Regions from separate parts of the Homo sapiens genome. Here region 2 is linked to region 1. Evidence: promoter capture Hi-C in human tissues and cell types (Jung and others, 2019). All regions are on one chromosome and are shown on one strand. Each heading gives the region's core, a stretch centred on a gene start or on the middle of the fragment in contact. The rest is flanking DNA. Distances are from core to core; before and after follow the strand shown. Region 1 holds the start of NDC1 (NDC1 transmembrane nucleoporin). Region 2 overlaps DMRTB1 (DMRT like family B with proline rich C-terminal 1).

Region 1 (5,036 bases), core at 1,049-3,548:
ATATGAACCTTTACTGGGCAACTACGGCACTGTAGCATTCTATTCATGTTTGAATTGCCCGTATCTATCATATAGGAGGAAAATATTTACTGCTGAATAATACAAGAAGATATAGAGGGGTTTTAAGCATGAAAGTGACAATCAAATTCATGTTGCTCAAGGTAAAACATGTCTGTTTACTGAAAGCTGGCTTTAAGGAAGATGGAGGAGTTGGGACACGAACCAAACCAGAGACAATGCAGTTAGGAGGCAGTCCACCAAAAAGCTGAGGCCGGGCGTGGTGGCTCACATCTGTATCCCAGCACTTTGGGAGGCCAGGGTGGGCGGATCACTTGAGGCCAGGAGTTTGAGACCAGCCTGGCCAACATGGTAAAACCCTGTCTCTATAAAAAATTTTTTAAAAATTAGCCAGGCATCATTCCAGCCCGGGCAACAGAGCAAGACTCTGTCTAACAAAAAAAAAAAAAAAAAAGAATAAAGTTGAACTCCTATCCCACATTCTTTTTGATGTTGTGATTTTGAGACAGCTCGCTCTGTCCCCCAGGCTAGATGCAACAGTGCCATCTCAGCTCACTGCAACCTCCTCCTCCCGGGTTCAAGTGATTCTCCTGCCTCAGCCACCTGAGTAGCTGGGGTTACAGGTGCCCGCCACCACACCTGACTAATTTTTTTTTCAGTAGAGATGGGGTCTCGAACTCCTGACCCCAAGTGATCCTCCCACCTCAGCCTCCCAAAGTGTTAAGATTACAGGCGTGAGCCACAGCGCCCAGCCTCCTATCCCACATTCTATACAAAAATTAACTCAAAATGGATTAAAGACCTACATGTAAGAGCTAAAACTATAAAACTCTTGGAAGAAAACATAGGAGTAAACCTTCATGATCTTGGATTTGGCAATGGTTTCTTAGATATGACACCAAAAGCATAAGCAACAAAAGAAAAATATAGATAAATTGGACATCAGCAATATTTAAAACTTTTTTGCTTCAGAAGACACTGTCAGCCAAGTGCGGTGGCTCACAAGTGCCAAAGGTGGCAACAACCCAAATACCCACATACTGATGAATGGATAAACAAAATATGTGGTATGTCCATACAGTGGATTATTCAGCCACAAAAAGGAATGAAGTACTCATGCATGCTAAACATACACCAGGCACGATGGCATGCACCTGATGTCCCAAATAGTTAGGCGGCTGAGGCAGGAGGACTAGTTGAGCCCAGGAGCTCAAGACCAGGCTGGAGAAGATATCGTATCTCTATTATAAAAATAATTTTTAAAAAAATTTTAGAGGCCAGGCACGGTGGCTCACGCCTGTAATCTCAGCACTTTGGGAGACCGAGGCGGATGACTCACTTGAGGTCAGGAGTTCAAGACCGGCCTGACCAACATGGTGAAACCCCATCTCTACTAAAAATACAAAAATTAGCTGGGCGTAGTGGTGCGTATCTATAATCCCCGCTCCTCGGGAAGCTGAGGCAGAACTCCTTGAACCCTGGAGGCGGGGGTTGCAGTGAGCCGACAACGCGCCATTGCACTGCAGCCTGGGCAACAGGGAGCGAGCCTCCGGCTCAAAAAAAAAAAAAGATAAGACTTACGGACCCAAAAGTTTTTAGTTTGGAATACAGGGGAGATGGCAGTGCACTGGGATAGAAGCACTTTTCCAAAAGGGATCTTTCTCCTCTTTCTCTTTGCACTCCAGAGAAGCGATGTAGTACTGTTAATTCCGTAACTTTAAGGAGGAAGTACTATTCCACTCAGCTCAGTCCCATTCTACCTTACAAAGAACACCTGCCCTGCTTACTGGACCCTAACCCCAGCCTCTACTAATGCCACATTTCTTTCCAATTCCGTGCATTCCTTCCCACTTCTTAACGAAACAAATTAAGTTATTTATTTTGCACCTACTGGATACGGTACCCTTGCGTAAAACTCCGCCTCACTCCCTATTCCAATTTCCATTCAGTCCATCCGTCCCACTCTGACCAGCTTCCTTCCACTCAGGACCCCTCTCCTACCCCGTAACCAACTTCCACTCAGGACTTCCCACAACCCTGCAATCAGTCCCCCAAGTGGTGCCTTCCCCACGCGTTCTCTCCACGCTGCCCCGGGACCGGCCCTCCCCCGCCCAGCGCGCACGCGCGATCAGAGCTTGCCCGCCCGGCCCGACCCTGGCAGTGCGTGCCACAGTGCACGCCGCACTCACGCGCCACAGTATGTCCCGCGACCTGCCGGCGCAGGGCCGGCTCACGGCCGTGGCCATGGAGATGGCGGCCCCTAGTCTAGGGCGTACAGGAGACCGTGCGCCCGCCCGCCACCGCAGTTCAAAGGCAGGAAGGCCCCAGGAGGACCCTGCTGGGTCTGCCTCAAACGCTGCCTGAGCGAAGCCCGGCCCAGGCTCCAACCCATCCCTGCGAGGCTTCGTCTGGACAAGCTCAACAGGCCAGGACTGCCGCGCAGACACGTCCCGCAAACGCGGCTGTAACTCCAGGAACCGCCCTCTGGCGACCAAACGGTCCCTTCGAAGCAGGGTCCAGCGGGGCGCCAGAAGCAGGTGGCGGCGCTGCATGCTGGGAACTGTAGTCTCGACGGCCCCCTGAGAGGAAGTAGGAGGAATGTTGCATTCTGGGACTCGGAGTTCCAAAGTACAGAATGCTGGGAGTCAAGGTCTTCCTGGAGGTGCCTTGAGGCATGCTGGGAATAGTAGTCTTTTATAAAGCCGATAACAGCCACAGTATTGATTGACTGGAATTCTTCAGTTAGAGCTAGCAAAATGATCTGCCCTCATTTCTCCCTATTACTTTATAAGTCACCTAAAAGTGAAACCAAAGGATGTGGTGGTCTTCTCCACAATAGGTACGCAGTAATTTTACTGAAATAAAAAAAAAATTCTCTAGAGATGCCTTTGGTTTCATAAAATCTGGTTTCTACTTCCAGATCTGCCACTTGCTAAATTGAATATTTTTATCTTCTCTGAGCCTCCATTTCTTCAACAGTAAGATAAGGATGAAAATAAAAATATCCTGGTGATGTTGTGAGGATGTAAATAATATGCTATACAAATGTTATCATTAATATACTGCCAGTAAGAAAAAAGGTGTTTCACCAACCCAAGTTTCACCTAATGAAGTCTTCTCAGTGCTTTAGACCTCAGTGAGATCTCTGGATGCATATCGCTAACGCCTTTTTATGCTCAATCACATGCCACAGTCAACATGCAATACTCAAGACAGAAATAGATTCAGTGATTTACTGACTAAGGAAATGCATAGGCTGGTGAGAGGAATTGAGATCACACCTACTGCTCTGCAACGTTTGCTAACAATGGCTTCCTGAATGCTTTAAGATTATATCCTATTCACTTCCAAAATCATGTTACTATCAATCATGTCTAAAGCACTGTAGGACAAACTGGGAATACAACTGATAGATCAAGTCTCTGCCGTGAAGAGATCTATCCGGTGGTGGAGAAAACTTGTAAAGAATTAGTCCAGGCCAGGCACAGTGGCTCACACCTGTAATCCCAGCACTTTGGGAGGCCAAGGCAGGAGGATCACAAGCCAGGAGTTTGAGACCAGCCTGGGCAACATAGTGAGACCTCATCTCCACAAAAACAACAACAACAACAACAACAAACTTTTTTTTAAATTAGCCGGGTGTAGTGGTGCACACCTGTAGTCCAAGCTACTCCATAGACTGAGGCAGGAGAATTGCTTGAACCTGGGAGGTTCAGGCTGAAGTGAGCAGTGATGGCGCCATCACACTCCAGACTGGGCCATAGAGTGAGACCCTGTCCAAAAAAAAAAAAAATCAGTCCAAATGCGTGTTCATAAAGACACCTCAGGTTCTAAGGTTCTTGTGGTAGAGACTACTCGTTGTCTGCCTCAATATCTATTCTCCCCTTCTTTCATAATAATTGAACTCCCAGTTTTTTAACTGGGCATATAGTTATATTTCCCAGCCTCTTTTGCAGCTAGGTATGGCCAGCTGACTGAGTTCAGGCCAATAAAATATAATCAAAGTATTGCATGGTAGCTTCCTAGAAACCCCCTTAAAAGGGAGCTACTGCATGATGGTCTTTGCCTCTTCTTAATCCCATCCTCCATTCAGCTGCCTGGATTTGGGATGTGTTGGCTGCAGCTCTAGCACCATACTGGACCACAGAAAGGGGGTCACACTGTAGGGAAAATGAAGTACTGAGCCTAAAGGAGACTTGATTATTTATGGCAACCATATCAGTTCTAGGCTACCTGCCTTTACCTCCTAATTTCATTTACACAAGAGAGACAATTATTTATTGTTTAAGCCACATCTATTTTTTTTTTTTTTTGAGACAGAGTCTCACTCCTTTGCCCAGGCTGGAGTGCAGTGGCATGATCTCAGCTCACTGCAACCTCCGCCTCTCGGGTTCAAGTGATTCTCCTGCCTCAGCCTCTTGAGTAGCTGGGATTACAGGCGCATACTACCATGCTGGCTAATTTTTGTATTTTTTAGTAGAGACGGGGTTTTGCCATGTTGGCCAGGCTGGTCTCAAACTCCTGACCTCAGGTGATCTGCCTGCCTCAGCCTCCCAAAGTGCTGGGATTACAGGCATCAGCCATCGCATCCAGCCTCTGCTTCTGTTTTTATAGCACCTATCACAGTCTTAAATCATCTTGTTTGTTTACTTCTTATTGTCTGACTTCTCACTAATATACAGACTTCACAAGAGCAGGGACTTTGTCTTGTTTATCATCGCTTCCAAAGTACCCATTACATTAGTAAGTAATAAATGAATTTTTATTTAATGAATAATGAATGAGTGGAAGAAATTAACTATATTGGACAGTGTTTCTTCAGGACAAAAACTTTTGATACCTATATCAAAGGGGGATTTAATGCAGGGAATTGATAACAAAGTTGTTGGAGAGGCTAAAAAAGCATAGGAAAGAAAGAACGGGGCTGTAGTAGCTAAGAGCAGAATGGAGTTACTGCCCAAATACCAGGAAGCTACTGCTTCCATTTAGAGCCATGAGACAACACTGAATGCTGAGCT
Region 2 (5,036 bases), core at 803-3,302, 370 kb before region 1:
TGACCCACTAATGTGGGGAGCAGTATATGGGGTTTCTCAAACTCACTTAACAAAGAACACTTTTAAGAGTACTAAAAAATACTTTGTAGGACACCAGGACTCCATGAAACTCAGCTCAGGATGTGTTGCTCTGAAGCATCTGGATAGAGAAGTGAATGACAGGAACTACATCCAAAACTCAGTATTATTTCTTACGACATTTGTGTGTTTCTTGGTTAAGCTCTGAGTTGTGCAGTCATCCCCTCTCCAGATCCTCTGATGGGGCCCTGTGCTGTGGTAAGGGGTTGGATTCCATCCCTTGAAGAAGGGACAGAAGCAGCAAAATGTTCATCAGTGAGGCCACTTGCCTGAAGTCACCCAGTGTATCTTGCCTCAGAAACAGCTGCGCTACACCCACATTGCCAACCTCTTCTCCCAAAGGCCCCCCTGGCACTTGAGTTTAAGTCACCACATGTGCCAGACAGGGGGTCCTGTGGGGTTGGGATGCGTTCAGACCCTTCCCCAGTGCAGAGCAGCGCTGGACAGAAGTCAGCTGAGTGGGCTATGGAGTCAGCCAACTTGGGATCCAGTTCTGCCCCTTAACCACAAAGCAGCTCTGCGGCCCTGGGCCTGTAGCTTCATCTCACTGAACCTGTTTTTCATAATTACAGCAAGAATAGTAATAGAACCCACCGCCTAGGATTCTGAGCACCCAAGCACAATCGCCCTGGCATATACAGAAGGGCTCTGTCACTGTGACCGTTCAGCTGTTCCCATGCTTATCTGAGGTTGCCTGTGTTCCTTCTTGCCTTCAATAATTTGGCAGGTGTTTGCTGAATGCCCCCTTCCAAATGCCCTGTGCCTGTGTGTTTGGGGCCGTGCATCTACCCCATCAGGAGCCCCCCACTTCAGGGGTGAGAGCTATGTTTGGTCAGCCCATCTGGCTAACTCTCTCTCCTCTCCGCCTCTCTGCTGTGTGTGCCGTGCAGGTGTCAGAACCAGGAGGAGACTTCCAGCCAAGCTACTACCTGCCGCCGCCGCCGCCGCCACTGCCGCCCCTTCCACCGCTTCCACCGCAGCCCCAGTTCCTCCCGCCAGGCTACCTCTCTGCGCTCCACTTCCTCCCCCCGCCACCGCCACCACCACCTCCATCATCTTTCTCACTGACCGTCCTGTTTGATACTGACAAGGAGAACACTGGTGAGTGAGCTCCAGTCTTCCAGCTTCAGCGAGAGCCAGGGAGACTTTCTGGAGGAAGAGGTACCTAATCTGAAGAAAGGTTAGGTGTGGAGAGAAGGGACATGGAATTTAAAGGGTGTTGAGCCCTAGAATGAGCTCCTTCTTACACCCTTCCTCCAGTCCCCATAGGCACACATCTAAGGGAGGTGGGAATGGGATTCCAGGTGAGGAAACCAGGGCCTCCAGCAGTTCTCTTGGGTATAAATGGCAGAGCTGGGATTTGAACAGAGTTTTTCAGTCTAGCTCCCAGTCTAGTGCCTGTTCACTCACCTTATTGGCTCGTGGGCGGTGCTGTGGAAGACAGCAGGCATATGGTGTGTTTGGAAGACCAGAGGTGCCAGGCCTCTCTAGCTGGGGTAGGGGAGCAGATGGAGAGACTGGAGCAGCAGCAGGAACCCGTGTGGTGGGGCTGTGCCTCTGCCCCAGGCCACTCTGAGGGAACCAGACCAGGAGCTAGAGAATCTGTCCTTCACAAGCTCTGCCACTGGGGCACTGGATGATCCTGGGCACTGAGGCTTTTCAACTATAAAAGGGGCCCCCTTACTAGGTTACTGTGAGGGTCGAAGAAACTTTTGGATGTGAAAATGTTTTGGGTTTTCTTTTGAGGGCCCTTGCAGCTTTAAAGCTTCTAGGACATTTTTCCTTTCAGTCTTCCCCTGGGGCTCCTATGATTTGGAAAGAACTGACAAACTCAACTAGGCCTTTAAAATGACTGTCAGACCATCTTATGAGCTAGAGGAGTCTGGTGGTATCACCATTTTACTGAAGAGGAAACTGAGGCCTGTTGCACACTTCCTGTGTGTGCAGTGCCTAGATCCAGTAGCTGGAGAGGTGGTTTCATGTGGCTGAAAACCACTGGCCCCAGTGCTGGGTGGCCTGGGTGTGAGTCCTGGCTCCAGCACTTGCCCAGCTGTGTAACTTGAGCAAGCTCATTTACTCTTTGGTGCTCCAGTTTCATCATGTGTAAAAGGAGACTAATAATGGTCCCTACCTCATGAGGATTCTGAGGATTAAACAGAACCTGAAGTGATGAAGGCATTGGTGAAGGTGGCCTATCACTGTCTGTTTCACTTAGTGCCCATGCTGCCATTGCAAGGTGGATACGTCTCATTTTACAGAAGGGGAAGCTGAGGTTCAGAGCTGTGGAGTATCTTGCTAATTCCTCCCAGCTTGTGACGAGCAGAGCAAGAGCTGGAACTTGAATCTGAATCACATGGCCAAGGCTAGGATTCCAGGCTCCTGGCGCCTAACAAGTTAAAGAAAATACATTCTCCCCTAGGGCTGGGAATGATGAGAAAGGCTTATGGAAAATCTGTATCTGGGCTGGGCACAGTGACTCACACCTGTGATCCCAGCACTTTGGGGAGGGTGAGGTGGGTGGATCACCTGAGGTCAGGAGTTCAAGACCAGCCTGGCCAACATGGGGCAACCCTGTCTCTACTAAAAATACAAAAATTAACTGGGCATGTTGGCGGGTGCCTGTAATCCCAGCTACTCAGGAGGCCGAGGCAGGAGAATTGCTTGAACCTGGGAGGTGGAGGTTGCGGTGAGCTGAGATTACACCACTGCACTCCAGCCTGGGTGACAGAGCGAGACTCTGTCTCAAAAAAATTAAAATAAAATAAGAAAAAAGAAAATCTTCATCTGCAAATAGGTAGTTGTAATTTTCGCTCTTTCTAAATCCAGCTACCTTCTTTGTCCTTCACAGATGACCAGGATGCAGAGGTACTGTCGGGTGAGCCCAGCCAGCCATCGTCTCAGGAGCAGTCCGACTAGGCCCCAGGCCCGCCCTCCTGGCCAGCAGAGTGGGGCACTGGGGGGCAACAGCAACAGTTTTCTTGTCTTCATTCAGTGATATGTAGGGAGGAAGGAGGTTGATAGCATAGATGGCAACTGATTCCCAGTTTAAGATAGGAGGAAGGAGAGCAATTTCTAAGTTTCAATCCTGCGCTGTACAGTTGAAGAAGAGTGTGGAGGAAGCTATTACCAGGGGAGGGCCAGGGCTCTGAGGAGTGGGCGCTGGGAGAAGCTCCCATTTAGGAATGAATTTAACTGTCCTTGGGTTACACTACCATTTATTGGAACAAGCCCCAGAGGCAGTATTTGATTTCCTCAGGCCCCACTCTAGGACAGGAGGCACCATCTATTTCAGCCTTCTGCTGCCTTTGCCTGGTCCTCCAGGTTGCTGGGGGCACCACAGACATCAAGATTCCAGTTCATCCAGGTGGCTGGAGCCAGCAGCCAGGACCAGGGTCGTTGACAGCAGGTTCTGCAGCATCCTGCCTTGCTGCTCTGTCCCCCACATCTTCCTGGCCACAGCCCCTTGCCCCTCCTCTAAGGGGTTTTACTAGCAAGCATCCTGGCTGCTGGGGCTACTTCATTCCCCCTCCATAAAGTTTCAGCCATTATGGGCACTGGTTTTAAAAAATTTATTAGTTTGACTATTTGATGTTTTTATAGTGATTGCCAACTTTAAAAAGTAGGCTGTTCATAAGCACTGATGCAGTCCCTAGGGAATAGAATGGTGCTTCTGATCACCTGTGACATGAACAGTTTCTTCTGTGAGGACAGTTGGCTATTGAAATAAAATGAGCAATGGAAATCCTTGTGGAAGGCTTATTCTCCCTTTGATCCTGGTGGAAGGTAGGGTTGGCAGGAGCCTGAGTTGGGGAGATTGGGGGCCTTGGTTTGTGGCCTGTGGCTGGCCTTGTCTGCACTTGCTTAGTTCCTATTTTTAGTTCCTGCCCTCCCTGTTCTACCTCCCCTTTCTTTATCAAGTGAGGGGATTGGGCCAGGCTAGTAGACTTCTTTATTATTACTGTTGTTATTTTAAGCAATGGAGACCTTTTAAGGAAATCTGATGTAGACACACAAAATGTAAAGATGTCTTAGTTTCCTTCCTCCAGCTCCTTCCATAGTCCCTGCATAGGAACATGCATTTAAAAAAACAGAACTTGAACCAATTCTGTTTTAGGGTCCTCGGCTTCTTCCATTGGTTGCATTTATACCTTCATTTAGAAAACATCCTGTGTTTCTACTAGATTCAGAACTTGACAGTTCCCAGCTCTGCCCATGAGGAACATGACATCTAGTGGGAGAGACAGAGAGTCTTAGGGGATTCATACTAGAACAGAGAGGTAGGGAGGCTGTGGGAGTGGTCAGAGAAAGCCTTCTGCAGGAGTCAGGGCCTCAACCACAACATAAGGGGCAATAATGAGTTAGGCAGAGAAGAAAGAGATGAGTACTCCCAGTAAGGATGCAGAGGAGGATGGGGACCTGGTGTGAAGGATTCCATGGTCAGGGCAGTGTCCTGTTCTCTGTCCAGGGAAGGGCTGGCACCCAAGAGAACAGGTCAACTTTACTTCCTTTTTTGCCTGTGGGCAGAGGTGTCCAGGCATCCTCCTAAGTCCTGGGATAGGTAGTGGGGGGATCATTGAGAAGTGATACCCTAACTATTCTCTTACGTCAGTGTGGTGGCTGGGGCCTAGGGCCTGGGCTTTGTTGGAAGGCACTGGAGGCAGGCACTGTCACAAGAACTTTTCAGTTACTGCTATACAGACATAAGAGTGTTTTCAGCAGGGCAGACCACGCATGCTGAGGCCTGAGGTCTGCAGGTCAGCACTGGTGTCAGCCTGGACAGGATGATGCGGTGATTTGGGACTACCCTGGCTTGGGGGCTGAAGCTATCACTTACCCCAGTGCTGGTCTTCCCCTTGGGGACCACAGTGCTGCAGGACCCTGAGAGGGTGGGAGAAGACATGCCTTTTGGTTGCACTTGACATCAATCACCATGCCCTAACTGAACCCCTGACCTGCCA

The links. Contacts are between HindIII fragments. The study calls those that stand out against the background at their distance.
Region 2: a fragment that was not itself captured here is called in contact with the fragment with the promoter of NDC1 in region 1 in 1 of the 25 tissues and cell types used here (IMR-90 fibroblasts).

The regions. Positions count from the first base shown.
Region 1 is chr1:53,835,998-53,841,033 of GRCh38, forward strand. It overlaps NDC1 (NDC1 transmembrane nucleoporin), which reads right to left and starts at 2,299. Exons shown (of 18, transcript NM_018087.5): 1 at 2,208-2,299. The coding sequence starts at 2,264. RefSeq lists a silencer at 2,053-2,182 and an enhancer at 2,293-2,772. The HindIII fragment of the contact is 21,020 bases long and covers 1-5,036 here.
Region 2 is chr1:53,463,669-53,468,704 of GRCh38, forward strand. It overlaps DMRTB1 (DMRT like family B with proline rich C-terminal 1), which reads left to right. Exons shown (of 4, transcript NM_033067.3): 3 at 969-1,179; 4 at 2,927-3,820. The coding sequence ends at 2,994. Among named protein-coding and RNA genes, the nearest start is that of DMRTB1, 6.8 kb to the left of the region's middle. The HindIII fragment of the contact is 7,613 bases long and covers 1-5,036 here.